Regions from separate parts of the Homo sapiens genome. Here all the other regions are linked to region 2. Evidence: promoter capture Hi-C in 16 types of primary human blood cells and fetal thymus (Javierre and others, 2016). All regions are on one chromosome and are shown on one strand. Each heading gives the region's core, a stretch centred on a gene start or on the middle of the fragment in contact. The rest is flanking DNA. Distances are from core to core; before and after follow the strand shown.

Region 1 (2,700 bases), core at 165-2,664, 99 kb before region 2:
GTCTCCTGAGAAGGAATAATGGGGCGGGTGGGGAGGGAGAAGGCAGTGTCCCAAAAACCAACAAAGGTTTTACCAAAGGTAATACCATCATTTCTGAGCAGCAGTTCCTTAACTTGTGAATGTGGCAAATGTTCTCCTTTACAAATTGTTCTGAAGGTAAAATGAGATCATGTAAACGAAAATCCTTTGTAAATTACAGATGTGTGTTATAAATGAAGTATCTCTCGAGTCACTCCATCTTCTGGCGTTGGGTCTCTGATTCTTAAAACGGATAAAATAAGCATGAACTCGTTTCTGGGCCCCTCCTCCTCACTAACCCTAACCTTTCCAACCTCACTGTCCCATCTCTGTGCGCACCGCTTCTTCCTTCAGAAACCTTGAGCGATCCGTGTTTCCTTCAGGCCGAAGTGCAGACTCTGGATATAGAAGGGCCCAAGGCTTGCTTACCAATCCTGCCTTGGTACCTGCCTTGCAGACCTTCACCCCAGTAAATTGGTCTCATCGCTACCTGAAGCACACAGTGAACTTTCCCATCTCCCTGCCTTTGCTCTTATCCTATCCTCTTCCTGTTCTCTGTGTTTCAAAATCGCATCCCTATTCTGGACCTGGCTTCACCCATGCCTCCCCTTTACTCCTACCCTGCATGCAGTTTATACACAGCACGCAGGTGGCCATCTTCCTTCCTCATAAGTTGCTGCGGCTACGTTCCCAGCTGCCATTCCATGTTGTCAGAGTGTAAGCTCATGTCTTAATAGGTATTTCTCATATTAATGTAGTGTATGATAGGGTTTGGCTGTGTCCCCACCCAAATCTCATTTTGAATTGCAGTTCCCATAATCCCCATGTGTCGTGGGAGGGACCAGGTGGAGATAACTGAATCATGGGAGCTGTTTCCCTACATCCTGTTCTCGTGATAGTAAGTTCTCACGAGATCTAATGGTTTAATAGAGGGCTTTTCCCTTCGCTCGGCTCTCATTCTCCCTCCTGCCACCATATGAAGAAAGACGTATTTGCTTCCTCTTCCACCATGATTGTAAGTTTCCTGAGCCAGCCATGCTGAACTATGAGTCAATTAAATCTGTTTCCATTATAAATTACCCAGCCTTGGGTATGTCTTTGTTAGCAGTTTGAGAATGGACTAATACAGTAAATTGGTACCACAGAGAGTGGGGTGCTGCTGTAAAGATACCCAAAAATGTGGAAGCAACTTTGGAACTGAGTAACAGGCAGAGGTTGGAACAGTTTGGAGGGTTCAGAAGAAGACAGGAAAATGTGGGAAACATTTAGAACTTCCTAGAGACTTGTTGAATAGCTTTGACAAATTGCTGATAGTGATATGGACAGTGAAGTCCAGGCTGAAGTGGTCAAGATGGAGATGAAGAACCTATTGGAAGCGGGAGTAAAGGTCACTCTTGCTATGGAAAGAGACTGGTAGCATTTTGCCTCTGCCGTAGAGATGCATGGAACTTTGAGAGAGATGAGTTAGGGTATCTGGCAGAAGAAATTTCTAAGCAGCAAAGTGTTCGAGAGGAAGCAGAGCATAAAAGTTTGGAAAATTTTGCAGCCTGATGATGGGATAGAAAAGAAAACTCCATTTTCTGGGGAGAAATTTAAGCTGGCTGCAGAAATTTGCATAAGTAACGTCAAATGTTAATCACCAAGAGAATGGGGAAGATGTCTCCAGGGCATGTCAGAGACCTTCCAGCAGCCCCTCCTATCACAAGCCTGGGGGCCTATAAGGGCCCCCCCCCCACCCCCCGCTCTATGCTGCATTGGGACATGGTGCCCTGCATCCTAGCTTCTTCAGCTCCAGCCTTGGCTAAAAGGGACCAACATAAAGCTCAGGCTGTTGCTTCAGAGGGTGCAAGCCCCAAGCCTTGGCTTACACATGGTGTTGGGCCTATGGGTGCACAGAAGTCAAGAATTAAGGTCTGGGAACCTCTGCCTAGATTTCAGAGGATGTATGGAAACACCTGGATGTCCAGGCAGAAGTTCGCTCTCTGGAGAACCTCTGCTAGGGCAGTGTGGAAGGGAAATACGGGGTTGGATCCCCCACACAGAGTCCCGATTGGTGCACTGCCTGGTGGAGCTGTGAGAACAGGGCCACCGTCCTCCAGACCCCAGAATGGTAGCTTGCACTGTGCACCCGGAAGAGTCCCAGACACTCAACACCAGCCTGTGAAAGTAACCAAGGTGGGGGTGGGGGTATACCCTGCAAAGCCACAGGAGTGGGGCTGCCCAAGGCCATGGGAGCCCACCTCTTGCATCAACATCACCTGGATGGGAGACACGGAGTCAAAGGAGATCATTTTGGAACTTTAAGGTTTAATGACTGCCGTATTGGATTTCGGACTTGCATGGCACCCGTAGCCTCTTTGTTTTGGCCAATTTCTCCCATTTGGAATGGGTGTATTTACCCAATCCCTGTACCCCCATTGTATCTAGGAAGTAACTAACTTGCTTTTGGTTTTACAGGCCCATAGGTGGAAGGGACTTGCCTTGTCTGAGATGAGACTTTGGACTTGGAGTTTTGAGTTAATGCTGGAATGAGCTAAGACTTTGGGTGACTGTTGGAAGGGCAGGGTTATGTTTGGAATTATGAGGACATGAGATTTGGGAGGGGCCAGGGACAGAATGATATGGTTTGGCTGTGTTCTCACCCCAATCTCATCTTGAATTATAGTTCCCATAATCCCCACA
Region 2 (2,700 bases), core at 20-2,519:
GGAGTGGTTTTTCCATTTTTTGAAATTTAATTTGTTCTTAAGTATCTTTACAGAAAAAAATCCCATTTATTTAAGAAGTACTGTATTCTCTGGTTCTTATAGCTGCTCATTTTACATAGTTTTAGTGTGTACAAACGATTTTTTTTGTTTCATTTATTTCTAATATACCTTCTCATGTACTTGCCAAAATTTCATGTTTGACACAGTCTGCATACCTGCCAGGATTCTTGCTGTTAATGTGAAGGCGCCTGTTTGGGTTACTCAATTGTTGGACAACTGGGCCCATTCCCAGGTTTTGGTCATCACGAACATTGTGAATAGCCCTGCTGTTAACATCTTTCTGCAAGTTCTCCCCCTTCTTCGCCCTTTGGATCATTTCCTTGGAAATGTACTTCCTTAAATGGGTTTACTGGGTCAAAGGGGCTCTATGAACGGTTTTATAGCTCTTGGCACATAATTTTCGGATTGCGCCCTGGGCGGATCTAAGCGATGGCACCGGCCGCCGAGAGGGCAGGAATGCGGCGGAACGGTCCCGATAACCACCCCTCTTCCGCCCCCCAAAAGGAGAAGACCCCGCGAAGGCCTGCGGCTGGAAAGCCTTTTTCCGGTGCTCTCCCGTTCTCTTGAAGTGGTTAGTGTCTAAGCCGGGCAGAAACGCTTTCAGGATCCCAGGCCCTCCTGCCCCAGGACTAGGATTCCACCCGCCTCCGCTAATTCGGAATCCCAGACACCCAGGGCCCCCTCTCAGGCTCGCCTCGAAACCCCCGGCCCTGCGGCCCCTCGCGGGCGCCGAGCTCGGTCGCTATTATTTGGGCGCGGGTGAGGCGAGGCCCGCATAGCTGCGCGCTGAGTCAGCGGGGGCCGCGGCGGGGGGCGCGGCCGGGCTCCCCCCCAGCGCACGGTGCGCTGGGCCCGGCGTCTGGGGTTCCGCCTCGGGGCCGCGGGGTAGTCCGCGGGGTCCGGCGGGAGGGGCAGGGGGCGCGCGGAAGGACCCGGCCTGGGTGCGTCTCCCCTCCCCCAGCAGGAGCTCGGCCGTGACCGCGCGCCCGGCTATTCGCCTCAGAGAACCTCGCCAGGGGGAGGAGGCGAGGGCGGGCGAGGAAGGGGCGCAGAGGAGAAAGCGGAGCGGGACAGACGCAGGAAGGGAAAGAAAGGGAGGAAGCGCGGTGCGCGGGGCGGGGCGGGGCGGAGCGCGCGCAGGGCCGGCGGGGACGCGCGCCGGCGGCTGCGGGCGGAGGGGCTTGTGGGTAGCGGCGGCGCGCGGCCGGAGACGGGCGGCCGCGCGGGAGTGTGTGCGCCGGGAGCTGGCTGAGGGACTGCAAGGCGGCCGGCGGCGACCATGGCAGCGGGCCGGCGGCGGCCGTAGTGGCCCAGGCCTGGGCTTCAGCCTCCCGGGGCCCCAGAGGGCGGGGCGGTCCGGGCCGCGGCGGTGGCGGCGCCACTTCCCTGCTCCCGCCCGAGGACTCCTGCGGGCACTCGCTGAGGACCAGCGGACCGGCGGCGCGAATCTGACTGAGGGGCGGGGACGCCGTCTGTTCCCCGCCGCTCCCGGCAGGGCCGGGCCGGGCTGGGCCGGGCTGGGCCGGGCGGGCCCCTGGGAGCAGCCCCCAGGCGGGGGACCGCCTTGGAGACCCGAAGCCGGAGCTAGAGGCAGGCGGTGGGCCCGGGTGGAGTCCCGGCCGGAGCTGGTGGTTCGGGGGCGGTGCTAGGCCCCGAGGCTGCGGGACCTGAGCGCGAGGAGCCTGAGTGCGGGTCCAGCGGTGGCGGCATGAGCCGGCCCCCGCCGACGGGGAAAATGCCCGGCGCCCCCGAGACCGCGCCGGGGGACGGGGCAGGCGCGAGCCGCCAGAGGAAGCTGGAGGCGCTGATCCGAGACCCTCGCTCCCCCATCAACGTGGAGAGCTTGCTGGTAGGTGGCCGGGGCCTGGGAGCTTGCTCGTTGCAGCTCACACCTCAGATCCCCTCTCCGCCCAGCCCTCCGTGCCCGTCCGCCCGTGGGGAGGGGGAGGTCTTGCCCCACCCCGCCCTGCTTCCGGCAGCCGGGGCCGGAGACCAAACGATTCTGTCACCGAGTTCCAAGAGTAGTGACCCGCCTTTGATTCCTCCCTCTACCTCCTGCTGGAGCCAGTGTCATCCCCGGCTGCTCCTTTCTTGCAGCACTGGGAGGAAAACACCCCTCTTCTCCTTCCGCCTGCCCACTCTGGGGAGGTGGGTGGAGGACTGGCCATGCTTCATACACCAGGTTAGCTGATTTGAAAGTGTCATGCTACGTGGGGACTTGGTGCGAGCGAGGGAGAAAGAAACCTGATGCTGTCCCTGTTGCGAGTACTCACTGGGGTACATGACAAAGAGCCGCCCTCACTCTCTCCTTTTAGTCTGAAATCTTGGAACACACAGCTAAAGTTTTGCTGTTTTCACTTGCGTTTGAGCATTCCATACTTGCTATTTAGTGCATTTTAATTGCTGTAAATTTAATTCCCTGAGATTATTGCGCCAGAGCCAAAAAATCAGTCTGAATTGTGGAGTGGAATAAATCTGTCCTCTTCATTGCGTCTCTTTCCTATAACGACCTTTGAAATCCAGATTAATAGCACCGTAAAGGCTGCTAATTGGCTCTTGGTTAAGAAAGGAGCATGTTTTACAAAATAGAAATGCACCGTAGAATGCTGGCTTATTTCTTATTTTTGTTAGGATAGATGA
Region 3 (2,700 bases), core at 170-2,669, 72 kb before region 2:
ACCACCCTAAAAATCCCCTGTGCTTCACCTATTGATCTCCCCTTCCCTACCCCTAACTCCTGGCAACCACTGGTCTTTTTACTGTCTCTCTAGTTTTGCCTTTTCCAGAATGATATGCAATTGTAACCTTTTCAGACTGGCTTCTTTAACTTAGCAATATGCATTTAAGATTCTTCCATGTCTTTTTGTGGCTCGATAGCTCATTTTTTTGTTGCTGAATAATTTTCCACTGCATAGATGCACCACAGTTTGTGCAGGAGCTGTGTGCTTGAGAAGCTATGTGTGCTCTAGGAGCTGTTCACTGGAGAAGCCACTCCTTAAAGCAGGCTGCGGGTCAAGCCTGTGGGAACCAGGAAGCAAACCGTTTTTCGTCTGCAGCATCTCTCTAGCGCCCTCTACTGACAAAGCTTAAAATTGTGCCAGCTAGCGAAGAAAAAAAATATGTAAAAGGCCCAGATTCATTTTCACTAGCAGGCAAAAAGGATGGTTTTGAGGCTGCCGGGCTATAAATCAAAAACGGGCACAACAATCTAACCTACCACAGCTAGTAAGATTCAAGGAGAGAAGCCAGGCAAACTGAAAGCTAATGACTTATGAAAAGCACCCAAGCTCACTCTCTGGACCAAAGCACTAGTTTTTTTTGTTTTGTTTTGTTTTGTTTTGTTTTGTTTTGTTTTGTTTTGTTTTGTTTTGTTTTTTGAGACAGAGTCTCACTCTGTTGCCCAGGCCGGAGTGCAATGGCATGATCTTGGCTTATTGCAAACTCCACCTCCCAGGTTCAAGCGATCCTTCCACCTCAGCCTCCTGAGTAGCTGGAATTACAGGTGTGTGCCACCATGCCTGGCTAATTTTTATATTTTTAGTAGAGACGGGGCTTCACCACGTTGACCAGGCTGGTCTTGAACTCCTGACCTGAAGTGACCCACCTGCTTCAGCCTCCCAAAGTGTTAAGATTACAGGTGTGAGCCACCATGCCCAGTCTCAAAGCACTAGTTCTGCTGATCAGTGAGTCTCAAAGTGCCCCCCTCGGATCTCTTATGCTAGAACCACCTACGGGCTTGTTACAACGCAGATTCCTGTGCTCCAGCTGGAACTGACAACTGAATTAGAATGAAGGAAGGCAGACAGGCATCTGTAGTTTAAACTTTTACTCCAGCTAGCTCTATGTACACTAACATTTAAGATTCAGGTGATCCTTGAGGGTAGGGGCCTTTTTAATTCATACTTGGCTCTTGGCCCAGTATTTGACTCTTAGAGGGTATTGCTGTAGATAGGCTGGTTCCTGCATTGGTTGGTTGGTTGGTTGGTTGGTTGAGAGATCTGATTCAAACCCAAGCAGCTGTAACTGGCCATGAGCTACAGCCCCAGCAATACTTTAACGGCATTTGGCAGATGAGCACGTCCCTTCACTAATGTTAGTAAAGCCCAGAGGTGACACATCCTCACTAGAATGGCAGATGGTATTTTCCATAGATGACTGTGGCAATATCTCCCATCCCACATCTTCTCCTACAATGTGACCTTGCCACCCTTCCATCAAGAGGCAGGGTCTATGTCCTGGATCCTTGAATCTAGGCAGGCTTGGGACTTGCTTGCAACTGATAGAATGTGCAGAAGTGATGCTCTCTGAGGCTACCTTAAAAAAGGCAATGGCCGGGCGCGGTGCCTCACGCCTGTAATCCCAGCACTTTGGGAGGCTGAGGTGGGTGGATCACAGGGTCAGGAGATCGAGACCATCCTGGCTAACATGGTGAAACTTCATCTCTACTAAAAATGCAAAAAATTAGCTGGGCGTGGTGGTGGGTGCCTGTAGTCCCAGGTACTCGGGAGGCTGAGGCAGGAGAATGGCGTGAACCCGGGAGGTGGAGCTTGCAGTGAGCCGAGATCGCGCCATTGCACTCCAGCCTGGGCGAGAGTGTGAGACTCCATCTCAAAAAGAAAAAAAAAAAAAAAAAAAGGCAATGCAGTTTCTTCCCTGTTCCTTGGGGCTCATGCTTTTGGAGCCATGAGTCTCCGTATGAAAAGTACCACTACCTTGAACCTCCACACTGTGAGGAAGCCCAGGCCTTCTGGAAAGGCCACATGTGGGTTCCCTAATCAACAGCCCTGGCTGAGTGAGGTTCCGCCCAACAGCCAGATCAACCACCAGACAGTAAGTGGTGATGTCTCCTGGGATTCCAACCCCCAGCTCTTGAGTCACTCTTAGCCATTAAGTCTTCCCAGCTGAGGCTCCCAAGCCATCCCACTGCCATGTCCAATTTCTGACCACAGAATCTGTGAGGGTAGTCAAATGGTTGTTATAAGCTGCTTAGTTTAGGGATAATTGGTTACACAGCAATAGTAATTACAACAAATTAGAAAGCACTTCTGGATTAGAATCACCTGGCCATCTCATCATCCAAATCATAGAAGCTGAAAAGCATAAGCTTCCACTTTAGCCTTCCCTCCACTGACAGTATTGCTAAGATCTTCCTTCCCCTCTGCTGAACATCACTGTGGAAGAGAAAACCCAAATACTCCTAAACTTGTTATAGTGTCTAAGAGTTGTATTTGAAAGACTTTAAAAGACAAAAACAAAAAAACACTAGTTCAGAAGTGTACCACATGCCTCACTACTTAATACCAGGGAGGCTTTATAAAGCAACATGAAAACCTAAACCAGTGTCATTTTTATATTCCCATCTGAAAAGAAAAGCACAA
Region 4 (2,707 bases), core at 143-2,642, 99 kb after region 2:
AAAGTGACTGACTTATTTTTATTTATTGTTTTATTCAATGATTTTGAATATTTTCACAGAGTTGTACAACCATCACCATTACCTAATTTTAGGACATTTTTCTCACCCTCCAAAGAAGCCCTGGACCAATTAGCATTTATTCCCCCAATTCCACCTGCCCCCCTGCCCCTGCCAACTGCTATTCTATTTTATGTCTTTATGGATTTGCCTATTCTGAAAGCTTCCTATAAATCAATCACACAACATGTATGTATGTCTTTTGTGACATCTTTCACCTAGCCTAATGTTTTGACATTCATTCATTCATGTTATAGCATGTATCAACACTTAATTTCTTATTATGGTTAAATAGTATTCTGTTACATGGTTGTACCACACTTCGTTCATTCATCACTTAATGGACATTTGTGTTGTTTCTCCTTTTTGACTATAATGAATAATGCTGCTTTGAGTGTTCTTTCATAAGGATTTTGGTACATATGTTCACACATTTCTTTTAGGAATCTACATTGCAGTGAAATTAATGAGTCATTGGATATGCCTATAATTAATTTTATTGGACTATTTCAGTTTTCCAAATCTCAGCTCTTATTTTTAAATGACTATTAAATATTTAATTGTATTAATACCCCCACAGTTACTATACTTTTGTTAGAAATATCACTTTTCATTTTTGTTAATATAAATTAGCCACAGTAATAGGTTAAATCTTGGGCCTATCTGTATTTCTTAGAAATATATTATTAGGGTGATTTCTGAATTCAATAGATAAATATTGACATATTTTAAAAACTTTTATTCATTTGCGGGTAGAGAGGACTTTGTCTTTTTAAAGCCATTTATATATCCAGTTTGCTGTGTTTTTCTAGTGTTGTTATTTTTATGGCAAATGCTTCCTTGCTTTCCTTTGTAGTTTTATCACCCAGATGTGTACCCCTAAACACCTTAGTTTAGTTTTGGCATTAAAAAAAAATTTAAGTTCAGGTATATCTTTTAAATCTCTCAATGTAGAGAGTTTCCCTCTTCTTTCATTTACTTTTGTCCCCAGGTTGAAGAAACCTAGATTTTGCTGATCTCTTCTTGTGGTGTAGTTTAACATGTTTCTCTCTCACTTGTATTTTTGTAAATTGGTTGTTAGATATAGAGGCTTGATCAGATTCAGGTTCCACTTTGGAAGGGGACGGTATAGGACTACTTCATAGGCCAGGTTCATAGGCCACCTATAAGAAGACTAATGTCTGGTTATCTGGTGTGTTACCAGCTATTTGTGCTCAGTGTCTTGATATATCATTTATTAAGATTTGTCAAATGATACTTCAGTTCAATCATTCCTCCTTGGTTATAGTGACTGGAATACTTCTGTGAAGAAAAATATTTCTCTGTTTACTTGTTAAGTTACTCAGGGTGCAGTTCACACTGGAAGGACAGGATAAATGCTTTATTCTTTTATTGTATTTACCAGTTTTCAAAATAAGGGTGACCAATTTTGGGGGAGAATCAGTTTGAACTCATGGACTTAAAACCTGTGTGATATGTTTCAGTCCTTTGAATATCTTATTGATGCTCAAATTGTGGTACCTTTGACCAGTGGGATCAGAATGAGGTTGGTTTCTGAAACCTTTAACGAAGCCTTAATAATCTTTGATAGCTTGCTTGCAATGTGATGTAACAGGGTGCTCCAGACCTATCTTAAACATTTGCTGCTCTTGATGTGTAATTAACTGTGCTTGTAGGTCTGTCTTTTATACATGTGTGAGTTTTTCTTTACAATAGATTCCTAGCATTGGGATTGCTAGGTCAGATGGTATGCACATTTGACATTTTGATTGATAGCACCAGATTGCTTTGTTAAAAAATTTTTCTTTACAAGTTTACATTATCTTTGTACAATAGATGTTCTCTTTCACCACAGTTTTAGCAAATACTTGATATTGTAACTATTTTAAATTTTTACTAGTTGCATGCTTGAGAAATAAGGTGTTAACTGTGTTAAGTTGTACTTCCTTGATTACTTACGAGATTCAGCATCTTTCATATGCTTATTAATAATTTATATTCCTTATACATTAAGCCTAAAATATAATTTATATTTTTATAAATTTATAATATAATTTTATAAATAATACATGATTTATAATATAATTTATATTTTATACATCAAGCAAAGTATAAGGAATATAAATTTCATTGCTAATGTATAAGGAATATAAATTAGTAAGCAAATGAAATATGCTAATCTTTTATAGTGCACTGAAAAAGATTTCAAAGTAGTGTAAAATTTAAAGTAAATGCTATTTGCAATAATGTGATTTTTAAAAGTGGGATACTGAATTTGATTTACTAATATTTTGTTAAGTAGTTTTGCATCTATGTGCATAATGAGATTTGACCTTTAATTTAATTTAATTATTTAAACATGGGCTCTTGGTTTTCTTATTACGGTAAGACTACTCTAATAGACATAATAGGGAAGCATACTACTTTTTTCTGTGCTTTGATACAGTTTATATAAAATATAAACTATTCATTTCATGAGGCTTGAATGAACTTACTTGCAAAGCTTTCTAGAAAAAAATTCTTTTTTTTTTCTTTTTTCTAGAGACAGGATCTCACTCTGTTGCCCAGGCTGTATTTAGTACAGTGGCAAGGTCATGGCTCACTGCACCCTCAAACTCCTGGGCACAAACAATCCTCTCACCTCAGTTTC

Evidence for each region. The method cuts DNA at HindIII sites, captures the fragments that hold promoters and counts their contacts. A CHiCAGO score of 5 or more calls a contact.
Region 1: a fragment that was not itself captured here is called in contact with the fragment with the promoter of ROCK2 in region 2 in 1 of 17 cell types (megakaryocytes); the score reaches 5.2 in megakaryocytes.
Region 3: a contact is called between a fragment that was not itself captured here and the fragment with the promoter of ROCK2 in region 2, in 1 of 17 cell types (megakaryocytes). The highest score is 6.3, in megakaryocytes.
Region 4: a contact is called between a fragment that was not itself captured here and the fragment with the promoter of ROCK2 in region 2, in 1 of 17 cell types (megakaryocytes). The highest score is 5.4, in megakaryocytes.

Annotation. Positions count from the first base shown.
Region 1 is chr2:11,441,912-11,444,611 of GRCh38, reverse strand. E2F6 (E2F transcription factor 6) reads left to right here. Exons shown (of 7, transcript NM_198256.4): 7 at 1-237. Among named protein-coding and RNA genes, the nearest start is that of E2F6, 23 kb to the left of the region's middle. The HindIII fragment of the contact is 7,403 bases long and covers 1-2,700 here.
Region 2 is chr2:11,343,205-11,345,904 of GRCh38, reverse strand. ROCK2 (Rho associated coiled-coil containing protein kinase 2) reads left to right here and starts at 1,269. Exons shown (of 33, transcript NM_004850.5): 1 at 1,269-1,909. The coding sequence starts at 1,769. It overlaps LOC124907733 (a long non-coding RNA gene), which reads right to left and starts at 393. Exons shown (of 2, transcript XR_007086216.1): 1 at 216-393. RefSeq lists silencers at 785-944, 1,015-1,084, 1,225-1,954. The HindIII fragment of the contact is 12,622 bases long and covers 1-2,700 here.
Region 3 is chr2:11,415,849-11,418,548 of GRCh38, reverse strand. The region is part of intron 2 of LOC105373429 (a long non-coding RNA gene); the gene reads right to left. Among named protein-coding and RNA genes, the nearest start is that of LINC00570, 23 kb to the right of the region's middle. The HindIII fragment of the contact is 2,019 bases long and covers 410-2,428 here.
Region 4 is chr2:11,244,655-11,247,361 of GRCh38, reverse strand. The region is part of intron 4 of ROCK2 (Rho associated coiled-coil containing protein kinase 2); the gene reads left to right. Among named protein-coding and RNA genes, the nearest start is that of SLC66A3, 91 kb to the right of the region's middle. The HindIII fragment of the contact is 2,340 bases long and covers 223-2,562 here.